Linked DNA regions of Homo sapiens: regions 1 and 3 are each linked to region 2. The links are contacts of gene promoters, found by promoter capture Hi-C in human tissues and cell types (Jung and others, 2019). All regions are on one chromosome and are shown on one strand. The core of a region is centred on a gene start or on the middle of the fragment in contact, and the rest is flanking DNA. Distances in the headings are between cores, read along the strand shown.

What was found. The method cuts DNA at HindIII sites, captures the fragments that hold promoters and counts their contacts. A contact is called where the count stands out against the background at its distance.
Region 1: a contact is called between a fragment that was not itself captured here and the fragment with the promoter of TNRC6A in region 2, in 1 of the 25 tissues and cell types used here (dorsolateral prefrontal cortex).
Region 3: a fragment that was not itself captured here is called in contact with the fragment with the promoter of TNRC6A in region 2 in 1 of the 25 tissues and cell types used here (lymphoblastoid cells).

The regions. Positions count from the first base shown.
Region 1 is chr16:25,106,030-25,108,942 of GRCh38, forward strand. The region is part of intron 1 of LCMT1-AS1 (LCMT1 antisense RNA 1); the gene reads right to left. Among named protein-coding and RNA genes, the nearest start is that of LCMT1-AS1, 4.1 kb to the right of the region's middle. RefSeq lists enhancers at 491-992, 993-1,492, 997-1,196. The HindIII fragment of the contact is 3,214 bases long and covers 1-2,913 here.
Region 2 is chr16:24,728,139-24,730,992 of GRCh38, forward strand. TNRC6A (trinucleotide repeat containing adaptor 6A) reads left to right here and starts at 1,513. Exons shown (of 25, transcript NM_014494.4): 1 at 1,513-1,708; 2 at 2,115-2,162. The coding sequence starts at 1,704. RefSeq lists a silencer at 1,542-1,851. The HindIII fragment of the contact is 13,221 bases long and covers 1-2,854 here.
Region 3 is chr16:25,004,036-25,006,933 of GRCh38, forward strand. The region is part of intron 1 of ARHGAP17 (Rho GTPase activating protein 17); the gene reads right to left. Among named protein-coding and RNA genes, the nearest start is that of ARHGAP17, 9.9 kb to the right of the region's middle. The HindIII fragment of the contact is 4,980 bases long and covers 1-2,898 here.

The sequences.
Region 1 (2,913 bases), core at 338-2,837, 380 kb after region 2:
AACCCCTGGATGTAGCCAAATCTGCAGCCACACTACTCTTGGACTCTTGTGATTACTTAGGAGACAACTAATTCCTATCTTTGCTTGAAGAAGTTTTAGGTTTTCTTTATGGCCAAGAGACCTAATCAATACAAGTAGTATTTGAAAGCAGTGTTTAAAGACGGATGACAAAGTCTCTGCTCAGATTTTTCATCTCTGGGTAGCTTTTGTTACCTCCCTCCATCTAATGACAGCTAGGTTTTGTTCAGTGCATTAGCTATCCCTCCATAAGCACACATCTTCCGTATATAAATTATTTTTGTTTGCCTATGTTTCTTTTCAAGCATTCAAGCAGTACCAAAGGAACATGGAGAAGTAGCTGTCTCCAAATCCAAGAGGAAGAAGACTTTTTAAACTGGCACAAGGTGTCTCCCAGTTCTAAATTTCTAAATGTCAAGAACTTGCAGCAGCAGTCAAGTTCCTAGGAATACTGGTTTCTGAGACTGCACCACCTCCGAATTCCCTCGCAGGCGTTCTGAAATTCACTAAGCAAATCCGACTGGCTTTCATATATCCCTTTATTTCTTGCTACCATGCACTTAAAGGACTCCCAACAGCGGGTCAACCCGGAAAGTCTGACAATGCTGCCCCCCACAGCACAGCGCTCGGCACAGCGTTAGGGACAGAAGTCATCGGAGTTTTAGCACAGGGCAGCGGTCCCAGGCTGGCTGTGTCCTCCGGAAGAGAGGAGAAGCATCGGGTGTAGTCCTCGCAGGGCAATGCTCGCCGGGGTAGGGACAATGGGCAGGGGGCACCCGAGGGGTTGCTACAGAGGAGGCAGCGGCCCGTCCCAGATGGTCGCCAAGGACCAGGGGGCGATTGAGCGGCAGCGGGCGTCCCGCTGGCCTCGGGCTGGGCTGTGGTTCGGTCCAGAGCCGACCGGCCCATAGTCAGGTCGGCCACCTGCTGATGAGGTTGAACTGCTTCTTCAAGGCAGCGGCGGCGGCAGCCCGCGGGGCGCCGCCTGGCAGGTAGGGCTACACCCAGACGGCTCCTACATGGTTCACAGCTGAGGTGACCGGTGGCTGCGACGGCTGCTGTAGCTACCCGGGCCATTGACCTCGCTCTCTCGCGTCACTTCCGGCGCGCCGTCCACCCGCCCTCTTGGCCGACCGTTCGGGGCCGAGGCCAGTCGAGCCGAGTCCAGCTGGACCGATCGGAGCCGAGCCCAGACGAGCCCGATCTGGCAAAGATCGCGAGGACCAGGGCGCAGAGCAAAGTGGCCTCTGCGTGACTTTGCCCCAGCCCTTGGTACCTCAGGTTCAGCGACGCCATCCACCTGCCCTCTGGCAGATGGTGGCTGAGAGGTCCTTGAAACAGGCAGAACATATTAGCTATAATAGTCAAATATTTACCACATTGAAATTTAGTGGGATTCTCATGTATTTTAAGGGTCCCCTCCACTCTTCCAAATTCCAAGTCACGTGGTTTTCGTCTCCATCAGATCACTCGTGGTGTGGATCTTCAGGGAAGTTATGGGGAAAGGGAGACCAGCAGCCTGCCCCGTGGGTGGCCATCCTCCTCCCCACGGGAGTGCCAGGCAATCTCCCCAGTGCTGGGGTCCTCTCCTGGTAAGTTCATTTTGTTTAGGGTCCAGCTGGGGCCATTGAACCCCTTGACCAAATATGCAAGCAACACTGCGAAGCAAAGCCCAGGGTTGTCAGTTTGGGGTTTTCCATCGAGAGAGAAGTTGAACAACAAATGCCATTCCCTGTCCATTTTATTTTTTTCATCATCAGTGACTAGGCCACTGACTGCCAGGGATGTGCATTTCTTAGGGGTCAGAAGAACAGAGAGCAGCAGCAGCGCAACAGTGCCACAGGAAACATCACTACCCTTGCTAGAACAATTACTGTTAGGACACAGGCAGGGAGCCATTCCTAAATCTTCCTGGGGTGATGGGTGATGGTCTCCTTCCTTGCCACAAACAACATAAAGGATTGTTCCCATGACTGTGCTGGGGGCACACTTTCCTAACAGTGTCTCTATGGCTGTCCCAAGCAGCTAGTGATGGTCACAAGGCTAGACGCAGTGACCAAAGAGTTCTAATCTGAACATCAGTGAGTAGAACTCAAGCACCCACTGGTTAGGATGTTGTGTTGCTGCTGCCCCCAGGTGGGAGCCTCAGAGACCACGTGGCGGACACACAGGCCACACCTGATGGCACCTACCAAGTTCAAGTGTGGCAAAAAAGAGAGCTCTGCTAATAAACTGAGCAACTTCCATTCAACTCCTGGGATTCATTCTGATTGGAACAACCTGGTTAGCCCTTCCCCCAATCCCCACCACCCTCTGAAGCATGACAAGGTGATTTTGGGTGCCAATTGGCCAGACCTTGGCAAGTTTCCACCCCTAGAGTCAGGCAAGGAGCCTTGCTTTTTTTTCTTTTTCTTTTTCTTTTTTTCGAGACAGACTTTCGCTCTTGTTGCCTAGGTTGGAGTGCAGTGGCACGATCTCGGCTCACTGCAACCTCTGCCTCCTGGGTTTAAGCGATTCTTCTGCCTCAGCCTCCTGAGTAGCTGGGACTACAGGCGCGCACCACCATGCCCAGCCATTTTTTGTGTTTTTAGTAGAGATGGAGTTTCACCATGTTGGCCAGGCTGGTCTTGAACTCCTGACCTCATGATCCACCCGCCTCGGCCTCCCAAATCCCGCCTCGGTGACTGGGATTACAGGTGTGAGCCACCACGCCTGGCCAGGAGAGAAGCTTAGTTTTCCATAAGAAGCTGTAGCTTTTTTTTTTTTTTTTTGGAGACAGTTTCGCTCTTGTTGCCCAGGCTGGAGTACAATAGCGCAATCTCGGCTCACCACAACCCCTGCCTTCAGGGTTCAGGCAATTCTCCTGCCTCAGCCTCCGGAGTAGCTGGGATTACA
Region 2 (2,854 bases), core at 263-2,762:
GATTCAAGCATGTTGTAAAGCCAGTTGAAGCTGGGCGCGGTGGCTCACGCCTGTAATCCCAACACCTTGGGAGGCCGAGGGGGGCGATCACCTGAGGTCAGGAGTTCAAGACCAGCCTGGCCAACATGACGAAACCCCGTCATTACTAAAAATACAAAAATAGCTAGGCGCAGTGGTGCGTGTCTGTAATCCCAGCTACTTGGGAGGCTAAGGCAGGAGAATTGCTTGAACTCGGGAGGCGGAGGTTGCGGTGAACGGAGATCGCGCCACTGCACTCCAGCCTGGGAGACAGAGCGAGACTCCGCCTAAAAAAAATGATAATATAATAAAAAAATAAAAAAAAAAGCCAGTTGAAGAACTTAGGTTAGAAAAAGGAGAATGGGATGATCCACAGAGTGGGGTTTCTGAGAAAGTAAAGGTTATAGATTTTAAGCACAGAGGAGGAATTATCTTTAAATTAGAAGAAAAAGCTTGATGAGAGGTTGGAAAGAACACACGCAAGTGAAAATATGTATCTTACTGTATCTACATGTATGTGTATTGTTGTATCTACCTGCAGATATGTATGTCTTATTGTATCTACATGTAGGTATGTATGTATACTTTTAATGTACACATATGCATCTGTGTCTACATATATACATATCTTAGTCTATCTACATGTATGTATCTTACTGTGTCTACACTAAGATGTTTCTTACTGTGTGAGCTACGTTGGAACCTGCTTTTTCATTTATTCTATTGCAACCATTTCCTCCATGCCGGGATTATTCCTCCACATCATTTTTACAGTGTCCTAATACATGCCAGTAGCTGTTTTTGAAGCCATCTAGTAGCGCTGGACATTTTGGCTGTTTGCAATTTTTCACCATCATCAATACCACAGCTTAGTATCTCGAAGGTGAAATATTTGCAGATACCCAGAATTATTTCCTGAGCAGAAAATCCGTGCAGGCGGAACTGCTGAGTCAAAGGTCGGTGGATAAAAATCGCTTTTAAGCCTCACAACCCGCCTCAGGTATGCATTCTTTACCTGAGGAGGAACAGAGAAGCAGAGAGGTTAAATAACTGGCCCAAGGTCAAAAATAATTAGAAGTGGCTGAATTCAAAAGCCGCGCGGGCTCATCAGGCTGCAGTTGGGGTAAAATTTGCGTTTTAGGCAATTTTTTTTTTTTTTTTTTTTGGCGTGTGTCAGTGGGGGAGGGGCCGGGCGGCGGGTAGGAAACTTGTGTCGCAGCAAAGAAGGAGGAGGAGGGGAGGGACTCCCCTCCTCGGTCAGACCGGAGCCGGCCGCACCGAAAAAGGTTGGACTCGGGACTCCGCAGGCCCCCCCAGCCACTCCGCGGGGCGCCTCGGAGGCTGTGACCTCCAGGGAGGTCCGGCTGGGTGCAGCGTGACACGCCGGGGCGGTTGCCAAGGACCTGCCCAATCTGCGGGTCCAGTTGCTAGGGCCTCCATCTTGGGGGCCAGTGGCCGTGGCGCCCCCGGAAGGGGTTGCCGAGTGGGGCATTCACTTCCGGTCTGGGGCCTGCGGCGGCGGCGGTGTCGGCGGCGGCGGCGGCGGCGGCGGCGGCGGCGGCAGCGGGTCGGTGTAGAAAATGGCGCTGGTGCAGCGGCTCGGGCCTCTCCCCGCGGCGCTGCGGAGGGCTTGAGGCTCGCGAGCCTCCTTCGCCGCGCCCCACTTGCTCGTGCACTTTACACACATGAGGTGAGCGGAACAAGGGCCTCCCTCCGGGCGGGAGGAGCCGCGGGCGCTGCCGCAGGGCCCGCAACCCGCGGCGGCGGCAGCAGAGGCGGCGGCGCCGGGCGTCCCCGAGACTTCGGGCCTCGGCGGGAGGGCGCAGGCTGCGTTGCTGCGGAGGCCGAGCGGGCGGCCCGGGGGAGCCTCGCTGCGCCGCGCCGCGGGGGCCAGGCCGGGGTTGCGCCTCGCCCGCGCCGCGGGACCGCAGTCCGGGCTGCAGCCCCGCAGCTTTGTGAGTCCCCCTCCCCCCGTCCTCTCCCCTCCCCCATCCGGCCCCGGCGCGAGCCTCTGCCGCAGCAGCTCCGTTTTCACGCGCATCTCGTTTTTGTGTGTGTGTTTTTGTTTTGTTTTTGTTTTTGTTTTTTTGTTTCAGAGAATTGGAAGCTAAAGCTACCAAAGACGTAGAAAGAAATCTTAGCAGGTAAGATGGGCGAGCTTTCCGTCTCCCGCCCCACGATAATCGTATATTTCTACTCCGATTCGCCTTTTCTGGGTTGAGAAGTTCCCCCGTGACATTTTCTTCCGCACCCGGAGAGCAGACATTCGGGAGAAGCGGCCTGGGGGAATACTGGAGGGATTGCGGGGAGATGCGTAATTACGCGTGTGTTTCTTTCTTTAAAAAAAAAAAAAAAAAGCGCAAAGCAATTCTTGTAAACTTAGTTAAAGCATTCTCACCCTTTTAGAATTTAATTAGGGGACTTGTGCATTAATTACTATTGTAAATGGTTGCAGGCATTGTGTGACTCATGATTGAGGCGGCCCTTATGGCGGGCTGTCAAACTGTTTTGGCTTCCCCGTTATTACTTTGTAGCTCAAATTGTTGCTTTTATAAAAAGATACTATGTGTTCGCATTCCCCCCCGCCCCCCCCCCCCCCCCATACATTGTAGTCAGGCGGATTCTGTTGCATTGGACACAGTTTTGTCCTTGAACTTTACCAAGCATAAGCTGCGTTTTGTTTTCCTTCGAAACTCCATTTCTGTCCATGTTCGGTGTGTGCTCTTTTTATCAGCTGGTAAAATAATTAAAAATCTTTTCTCCAGAAGAGGTTATCGTTCCTGTTGGGCCCTGCTGCTTTTGCATCACCGTGAAGGGAGAATTTTTTTTTTTTTTT
Region 3 (2,898 bases), core at 104-2,603, 280 kb after region 2:
AAAAAATATTAAGTTAAAGGATAAACTCTTCAAGTGTTAGGTTTCCCCTAGGACTATCTCTACCCTTGGAATTCTCTATCACCTGCCAGTTATTAAGATCACTCAAGGCCAGGCACAGTGGCTCACGTCTGTAATCCCACAACTTTGGGAGGCCAAGATGGGAGAGTTGTTTGAGGCCAGGAGTTGGAGACCAGCCTGGGCAACATAGCAAGACTCTGCCTCCATGAAAAAATTTGTTTAAAAATGATTGCTCACGTTACATGCCCAGCGGAGTCCTCACTGAACCCCCAGGCACATCTCAGAGACTCCCCTGCTTTGTGCCTGTGCCCACACTCCCTCCATCCAAGCACTCACTGTATCTGGTGAAGTAGAAACACTTCGGTGTATTTCCCCAAAGTACCGCTGGCCATGGTTTCAAATGGTCACTCCAGCCCAGGCATGTGAAAGTATCCAATGACCACGTGATATCCAAGCTGCTTGATTTATACATATTCACACTGACAGGTAACAGCTGATGGGTGCTTTTAATAATTTCTGTACATTTATTTAAGATTTATATTCATTTGAGCACCTGTTTACTTGGTCTGTGATTTCTAATTTAAACTCTTTAAGAAGTATAAATTTGGCCAAACCATGTGGAAGAACACTGAGTAACTACAGAAGAAATGCTAATGAAACATTAAAGGAGAGATCAAATTGACTACTAAACCAAAAGGTATCTCTGATAAGGAAGACGTCCAAAAAGAAGAGCTGTGGGAAAGGAGAGGAAGAGAGAAACATCTTGGGATAATCAAAAGGAAGTAGCCAATGCAAATAATCAATAAGCTGTAATTAACACAGAGGAAACACAGTCTCACAAGATGCATGGCTGAAATGAACTGAATATTGTTTGTTTTTGAGATGGAGTCTCACTCTGTTGCCCAGGCTGGAGTGCAGTGGTGCGATCTTGGCTCACTGCAACCTCGGCCTCCTGGGTCCAAGCCATTCTCCTGCCTCAGCCTCCTGAGTACCTGGGATTACAGGCGCCTGCCTGCCATGCCCAGCTAATTTTCGTATTTTTAGTAGAGATGGGGTTTTACCATATTGGTCAGGCTGGTCTCAAACTCGTGACCTCAGGAGATCCACCCGCCTTGGCCTCCCAAAGTGCTGGGATTACAGGCGTGAGCCACCATACCCAGCCTGAATATTGTTTTTATATCAAACATGCCTATTATTTTATTTGCTATAAATAATAGGCTCTACCTATTTAAAAGACAGTTTCTTATAGAAATCTTAGATTTTTTATAGAATCAGCTTTATCTTCTGAAACTTGTATTAAATCTGTACCTAGTCATGAATGTGCAAGGTTTCATCACTGTATCTGTTGAGGAACATATCTATGAACAAGAATGCTAACTTGTTTATATTAAAGTACATAAATACATCAAAGAATGGCATTAAGATTTCATTAACAGCACCTAAGATCTGCTAGAATAGATAAAACTGGTTACATTCAGATTATCTGTTTGTAGCTCTGTCTCCACATTCAAGTCCCCAGGGATCAATTATATTTTTAACCCCAGCCCCTATCATTTGACAGGTTCTCAAGAGACATTTGTTGAACTAAATTGGTAACTGAGCAATGAAACTGATAACTAAACGTTAATTCCATGACAAACAAATGACACATACAGAGAAAACTCATATAAAGAAATACAAATGTAAGAACACATTCATTTTGAACTTAGTGGAAAAAATTTAAATAGATAACAAATTTTTTAAGGACAATATCTAATGCAACTAAGGTGATGGTGAAATGTGATATTCATCATGTCATGCATAATGACACACATTATTGCGCAACATCACTTTCTGCACTACAAACTAAATGACGGCATTATCATCTTAGGAGACAACCTGGCAATACTGTCATGATATAAACATTAATTTCCTATAAATCTAGTGATTCTAACCTCTAGAGAATTCATCATGAAAAAGTAATTTAGAGGTGAGCAGCTATAATCATTAAAATGGTGACCGACCATGTCAAACAGAAGGTTGGGGAATTGTAGATACAATCCAGCTCAAGCCAGCTCAAGGCAGCAAAGCCAACTGGAAGACAAATTTGACTCCAAGTGAAAAATAATGAGCACCTAATTAAGGTAACAGGAAGGATGGCCTCTGGGAAGCAAAGATGAAGTCAACAGATAATCAAGGTCAGTTCCAGACCAGCCTGGCCAACATGGTGAAACTCTGTCTCTACTAAAAATTAAAAAAAAAAAAAAATTAGCCGGACATGGTGGTGTGCGCCTGTAGTCCCAGCTACTCAGGAGGCTGAGACAGGAGAATCGCTTGAACCCGGGAGACAGAGGTTGCAGTGAGCCGAGATCATGCCACTGCACTCCAGACTGAGTGACAGAGAGGGACTCCGTCTCAAAAAAAAAAAAAAAAAGAAAAAGATAATCAAAGAGGCAGAATTTCCAGTCTCCTCACCTGACTGAGATGATGGAGGAAAAAGAATGGGACTGACAGGTGACTAGGGAGGGTGTGAGGGCATTTAATGCCCTAGGGCAGGGGTCACATGCTTCTTATGAAGTGCCAGAGGATAAATACCATAGGCGTTGCAGGCCATATGGGTCACTGTTGCAACTATTCAACCCTGCCACTGTAGTGAGTGGCTGTGTTCCAGTAAACTTTTTCACAAAGCAAGCGGTGGGCTGGATTTACCCTGCAGGCCAAAGTCTCGTGACTCACAGACTAGAAGATAGAGGGAAATGAAGCCAATTTGAGGAAGAAGTTCATGGGTTCAATTTTATCAGGCCATGTCAGCAGAGATTTTTCAAGAGAGAGATGATAGCATCATTCTAGGGATAAAGAGACCCCAGGGCTGGAGGCATAAAACTGTCACCATGAGGTGAT